Regions from separate parts of the Homo sapiens genome. Here region 2 is linked to region 1. Evidence: promoter capture Hi-C in human tissues and cell types (Jung and others, 2019). All regions are on one chromosome and are shown on one strand. The core of a region is centred on a gene start or on the middle of the fragment in contact, and the rest is flanking DNA. Distances in the headings are between cores, read along the strand shown. Region 1 holds the start of EXOC4 (exocyst complex component 4). Region 2 overlaps PLXNA4 (plexin A4).

The links. The method cuts DNA at HindIII sites, captures the fragments that hold promoters and counts their contacts. A contact is called where the count stands out against the background at its distance.
Region 2: a fragment that was not itself captured here is called in contact with the fragment with the promoter of EXOC4 in region 1 in 2 of the 25 tissues and cell types used here (aorta and dorsolateral prefrontal cortex).

What each region holds. Positions count from the first base shown.
Region 1 is chr7:133,251,306-133,254,615 of GRCh38, reverse strand. It overlaps EXOC4 (exocyst complex component 4), which reads right to left and starts at 1,538. Exons shown (of 18, transcript NM_021807.4): 1 at 1,429-1,538. The coding sequence starts at 1,514. RefSeq lists enhancers at 1,452-1,511, 1,722-1,771. The HindIII fragment of the contact is 9,010 bases long and covers 1-3,310 here.
Region 2 is chr7:132,554,767-132,558,344 of GRCh38, reverse strand. All of the region lies in intron 1 of PLXNA4 (plexin A4), which reads left to right. Among named protein-coding and RNA genes, the nearest start is that of PLXNA4, 20 kb to the left of the region's middle. The HindIII fragment of the contact is 3,227 bases long and covers 158-3,384 here.

The DNA of each region.
Region 1 (3,310 bases), core at 289-2,788:
TAATACGTGCCAGACGCCATACTGTCAACTGGCACTAAATACCTATTGTTTAAATAAATGTTGACTATAAGGTAGAAAAAACAAACAAGTTCAAAAAAGGATCCAAATAATGTCCTGGTATTCTAATTCCACAGGAAATTCAGATGGGAAACAACAAACATTCTTATTGGAATTTTAGTATCATGAGATACATCTACACTACCTGCGTATTGTCACAGCGAGAATGTGGGCCTATAGATTCACAATACAACAGCACTTCCTCTGTATGGCCTACCAAGTATATTAAGCATTTCCACACAGAGATGTTTTTCTCTTAAGCCCAAAAGAAAATTAAAGTAATGATTTAATAGGCCATAATCTTAAAGCCTCCTAAATAAGACCCATAAGATGTGTCTTTGTCAGTGAGTGGTAAGCTGTTCTAATGGTTTGATACATGCATTCATTGAAGTGCTTAGTACCTACCAGATAATGTTGGGCCCTGGGTTTTGAAAAGATGATCAATACATTCCAGAAAACTTGCAAGAACTCAAACAAAAGTTTAGTATAGGTGGGGAAAAATAGAGTGTTTGTTTATGAAAAATAAACGAGTTGAAATTCAAATGCCAACAACGTAAAAAACGTGCCATAATAAATTTTATTTAGATTGGTTTTAGTCAGTACCTGCATCATATCCAAGATTCTTGAAAGGGTTCCCCCATCCTCAATATATTTCGCTTTTTTAAAAAAAAGCTCCTAAAAGATCCACCGCTCCCACTCCACCCCCACCCTAATCTTCTGGGAGGTGCAGAGGGGCAGTGCATGGAGGATAATTTGAAATTGGTTTGGTTCTGTTTTTTAAGGAATGGACCAGAATGCGGAGGCAGGGCAAAAAATTGAAAACCGATGTGTGCCTTCAAACCCAGTCCTCCTACCAGCTCACTGCAGATTCTTGTATTTGTGGCTGTGGCCACGCACAGGTGGTTGAAAGTATCCAGAGTGTGAAAACACAAATCTGCAACTCGTGACAGGAATCTCCGGACTCCAAGGCCTTACACCCCAAAGTCCAGGAAACAAGACGCCTTTCTCAGTGAGTGCTGCTACAGGCAAACAATAAACAAGCATTTTAGGAATCAATAAACACACCTTTACACCTGGTTTTCTCTACCAAACCCAAATAGCGTGCTTTGGGGTCCCGAGACTGTAATAGAAGGTGCTGCCCCTAAAGAAAAGACTGAGGCGGGGCTCCTCTCTCTATAGCTAACCCCAGAAAAAAAAGGTGGAGGGGGAATTGCTGGGGCCCTGGGGAGGGGTTAGAGCCCTGGGGAGGGGCTGCGGGAGGCAAGGAGGAAAGGGGAGAGCAGGGTGGGACCCAGCTAACCCTTCTCCCTTCCAAAGCGGAGGTCGAGCCGCTGCCCCCAGTCCCCAGACCCTGCCTCCTGCCTCCCTCACCTGATCACAGAGATGAGCAGCCCCGAGGGGTCTTTGCTTTTGCTGACTGTGCTTCTGTATTTCCCACCAGCTGCTTCTGCCGCCATCTTGGACGCGGGGAGAGCCGCTAGGCTCCAAGGAAGCCAAGGGTGCGTAAATTCTGTATTTGACCCCGCAGGAGTCTCCACCAATGGGTGAAGAGAATTCCAGAGGCGCGGAAGTGGAAAATCCAATCACTGAAGTGAGGAGGCGGGACTAAGGGAGCAAGTTTTGAGGCCACGACGCGCGTGTTCTCTCTAAGCACTCTGGGAGTCGTAGTTTTCCTTCTCCGTCTCCTGGGCGCGCAGGAAAGCTAAACCAGCTGCAACTTCCTAAGTCTTGTAATGAGTGTCTTCATTTATCTTTATTCTGACTTCCAGCTTTTTTCAGTTTCCTTGCTTTTAGAATTTTGTCAGGCTTTAAATCAAATTTATCTGATGATGCCAAAATGTGTTAGGGTTTGTATTTAAATGAAAGAGGGGTTCTCTGCCGGATGTCTATGTGCGAAGTTTTTGCCTTAAGTGCAAGTGATTTTTTAAAAAATCCAATAAAATACGAAAATGAATATAAGCAGAAATGCTTTTCTTTAGTATTCTGTAAAACTAATGTTTCTACATTAGGTTTATGTGGAGTTCAATTTTTCCCAATGTTCCTATATTTCCAGATAGTTCTAAAACCACACGTACAGGAATAAATGAATATTGATGAAGAAAAGACAGTATAAGCTAAAAACAAACAGACCACACTGCAGATTCCTTTTTTTTTTTTTTCAAGCTAAATGAAATACTTAGTAGTAATGCACATTTGTGTTAATACTTTTACCGGTAAGTTTTTAGTATTTCCTGCATTTGGTTCCGTTGGCTTAGTCATTAATTCATAAGACCAAATGAACAAAACAAAACAAAAAAGACCAGAATGTGCGTGGAAAGTGGTTAGACTGAGGAACAAGAATAATAATAATTTAAAAGTAAGGAAGGAGGTGGCCTGCTCAGTAGCAATAAAGATTGAAGAACTTAAAGGAATAGAAAGCAAACTAACTCAGAGGTCATGGAGTTGTGAGCAGCAAGCTCAGAACACATCAATTACTTTTATTAAATAGACATCGAGCTGGTAGAAGTTCACATTTTTAAAAATTAGTTGAAGATAACACACACACACACACACACACGATAACTTAAAAGTATTCATAACCTTTGGCCCAATAATTCCAGTTCTAGGGACTTTGTTCCTAAAGAAATATAGAGTATTGACATTTTTTAAATAACACAGAAGAATTAAATAAATTATGTAACATTCAAATGAGGAAATAACATATAGCTTCTGGAAATCATAATTTTAATGGCTTTTAAAGAAAATAAGATTTTTGGGCCAAGTGTGATGGCTCACACCTGTAATCCCAACACTTTTTGAGAGGCAGAGCCGAGCAGACCACTTGAGGCCAGGAGTTTAAGACAAGCCTGGCCAACATGGTGAAACTCCGTCTCTACTAAAAATGCAAAAGTTAGCCGGACCGTGGTGGTGTGTGCCTGTAATCCCAGCTGCTTGGGAGGCTGAGGCATGAGAATTGCTTGAACCTAGAAGGCGGAGGCTGCAGTGAGCCAAGATCGTTCCACTGCACACTGCACGCCAGCCTGGGCAACAGAGGGAAACTCTGTCTCAAAAAAAAAAAAAAAAAAAAGATTTTTATGGTATAAGTACAAAAACTGGGCTATAAAATTAAATAATTCATAGAGAAAGGGAGAGGCAGTTGGGCCTAGTGGTTAAGAATGCAGGACAGGCCGGGCGCCGGGTGGCTCATGCCTGTAATCCCAGCACTTTGGGAGGCCGAGGCGGGCGGATCACGAGGTCAGGAGATCAAGACCAT
Region 2 (3,578 bases), core at 522-3,021, 700 kb after region 1:
ATATCACATGACCAAATATAGAAAATTTGCTTTGAAAAAATGTCATTTCTCCAGCACATACTGTTTTGAAAGAATGGCATTTTCACCTAAAACTTATATTTGAAAACTTAAAAATATTGGTAGGCATGGAACAGCATTTAACCAGGTAACAAATTTTACAAGTAGACTTAGCCACATGCCAGGTCTGGGCATTTTTGTGTGCAGACAGTAGTACACGTAGAGACTTTCTGAAAACTCAGCCTGCCAAGAATTTCCTGGTAATATATGATTTATTGGCTTGTATTTTCAGTATTTACATCTCATATTCCCACTTAATTGCAAGCTTCTTGAAAGCAGGCATTGTCTTAGACACATTTGCAGTTCCCTCTGGACCCAACATAAGGTTGTTTGATTGTCTCTCTCTCTCTCTCTCTCTCCCTACCTTAAACTTGGTTTTCTGAGCTTGAAAAGAGAAGTATTTGAATGGTAGGACAGTAGAGGGCATTACACATCCTGAAACAGCTGCGGATCTACAGGAAGTGGGAAGTAGCTTCCTGGCGAAGTCTGCAGGCAGTGATGTCCATGTCTTGGTGATTATTCTTCCATACAATTATCATTTTTCACCAGCTGATGGTAAACAGAGCACCTAATGAGTTGGTCTCTAGACCACAGACGTACCATATTGCTTGGTAGGCACAGAGGAGCTGCAGATAACATCTTTTTCAAAATGAAAACTCCATTAAACTTGGCTGACTTCCTGTTGTCTTTGGTCAAAAAGTCCAAAGGTTTTGCAAAGGTGAAAACTTTTTTTTTTTTAAAAAAAAGATAAATTAAAGGAAAATTCAAGGAAATAAAGAGATTTTTATTCAAGGGCTCCTTGGTAATTGATTGCCTATCTTTACGTCCCCCCCTGCCGCCATTTCCTCCATCTTCTGTGAAGAAAATCTTAAGTTGTAGGTTTTGATAAACTCTCCTGCCACCTCTTTTCTCTGAGCCAAACATCCTGGCTGTGCTGGCAAGTTGGGAGCCTTTGCAGGGGATGGGAACAACTCAACTTCAGTAGCACGTGATAGAGGGTTCCTTCTCTTTTAACTGCTTTGCACATTGATGGAGAGCTCATTGCTTCTCATGGTGCAGGTAGGTCTGACTCCACATCTAATTTTGTGACTGATCACAGGTGCAGGTCACCATCTGCAGGAGGTGTGGATAGCAAAGCCCAATGTCAAAATTCATTCATGTGGCAGGGTTTCTGGGCAGCCCCCATCCCACTGCTGGTTCGTAACCAGTGGGTCTCTAAGCTTCTCCCACCCTCATTATATGTGTGTCTTACACAAACTTCTGCCACCTGGTACTTTATTCATTAATATTTTTTGAAGCCTAAAATTTGAATTTATGTTTGTCACATTCAATTTCTTTTTGGGGTTCCAGTTTTGACCCTGTTTCAGGCTGCTAAGATAGTCTTAAACTTTGTTTCATCCTCATCAATGGGTTGAGTCTTACTCTACTATTAAATGACTTCTCTCATATTATCTCATTTGACCTTCACAAGTCCTGGAATCTGTCCGTTGCAAATTTGATAAATGTGACTCTCAGTCTTCATTCAACTTACGGATAAAAGTATGAAACAGCACAGCGCCAAGGACGGAACCCTTTGACATGGCATTTTCTGAAGAGCTTCCCTTTTGGGTTTGACAAATAACCATTGATTCACTTTCTTTAGGCTCCAGAAGCAGGGGAGCACCCAGGACCCAGGATAGACTTTGGAGGCAGACAGGTCTGGCACTGCAACCCAACTTAATGCCAACTTGGCCATGCCCAATGGGCAGATTATGTGGGGACTCATTTCCAGTGATTATAGGCAGGTGAGAGCTATGGGCCTTCTCCTCCACAACCTTCCTACAAAAGCAAGTTGCAGACTCAATTCTACCCTACCTACCAATATTTGTTAGTAACCAGGCACATAAATAGCCATACAGCCTGTTTTTGAAGCTCAGTGTGGATCCTGCTGTCTGCCTCAACTAGTGTGCCGGGGAAGGGTATCAAGGTTTGCTGATATAGCGGGTCACCTCAACCCTGCAGGTGGACAGCCAGAGGGCACGAGGGGCATGCAGCAGCAGAAGCTCCCTCTCTGGCCCCAGGGTGTGGTAAAAATATTATCACTTTCTGCAAGTGTCAGGAAGTGAGAAAGTTTGGGAGGCACTGACTTAGTAACTCTTACAAGTTTATTTCAAGGAAGATTTATTTGAGGCAGATGTGGCAATGTGGTTGCAGGTTTCAGCTCACCTTCTAGTGGGATTAGAGGACAGCATCCTTTGAGAGATGAAATAGACCCTAGTAGGACCCCTAGGCCAAGAATGGAGCCACAGAGGGCTCTAGGCTTGCCAGATTCTTGTGCCCAAAGGGCAGAGATGCCTGGATGGCATTTCTAACCAATTATGCATATTCGACACTGCTTAATTTCCTGCTGATAAATTGTTTCCAACATCTCTTATGTTTTTTAACAAACAGTGTAGACTCTGATGCAAGGCTTTCAAAGGCTAAGTCACCAGCCCTGGTTAGTTACAATACTTCAGATGTCGACTAACCATCCTTGGGTAAGGATTGGAACTAACTTACATTATACCACTCTGTTTAAGCTGATGCATTTTAAAGTAATTTACAGACATCATCAAGCCTTGGCTACTCAGCTGTGTGGCGTCAGCATGTTACCTGTCTTCTCTGAGGTTCAGTGTCCTTATCATTAAAAGAGTAAAATAAGGGACTGCTCTAACAATTAAGTGACATAATACGTGGGAAATAGCTTGCACACTGCTTGACACATATTAAATGCTCAATAAGTGGAGAGGTAATATTATTGAAAATTGTTGCCTGTTCTTCAGATTCCTAAAGCTTGTCAGTTCTGCTTCTTGCCACCCTGTGTTGGATTAAAACACTTCAGTTTTCTTGGTTTATAAATAGTCACATCTGTTTCTAACACTGGGCTTCAACAAGTCTACTGCCTTGAGGTTCTATAAGCAAATGGGAAGGGAAGAAGAGCAGGTGGCTGGTCCCATTGCATTAATTCTGGCTCTCTGTCAGAGTATGACCTCTTAAAAAAAGATTTAAAAATATTTGTAGGGATTCCTTTATTTTTGGAAGACTCAGAATTTTCTCAGAGTCTAGAATTAACAGCCACGTTTATATATTCAATCTGTGCTCAGATCAGCCATCCACATGTAAACATACGTTATTTTTATAGGACCTGGAGTGATATCTTAGATAATGTGGTTTTTTTGCCAGGCCATGGTGATGGTTACTGTTTTTTTTTTGTTTTTTTTTTTCCTTCAGGTTTACCACCCAAGACTCTGAATTTGGTGTAGGGAGAGCAGATAGGAGACTCTTGGCTCAAAGCAGTGGCTAACCATTAGTGAGTAATTATTGCCTGGAGCCTACCTGATAATTATGCCAAGCATTGCAGGATGGGGCATCTGCTAATGTTTGCCTGCAACGAAGTCAGAAAGCTGAAGTGGTCCATCAGAGACCAGAGAGGTGTGTTCAGTGTACATGGTGTTTGCATACTTGGATGTCCTCACTTGCCTCCAATAGGTGATATTTATGAA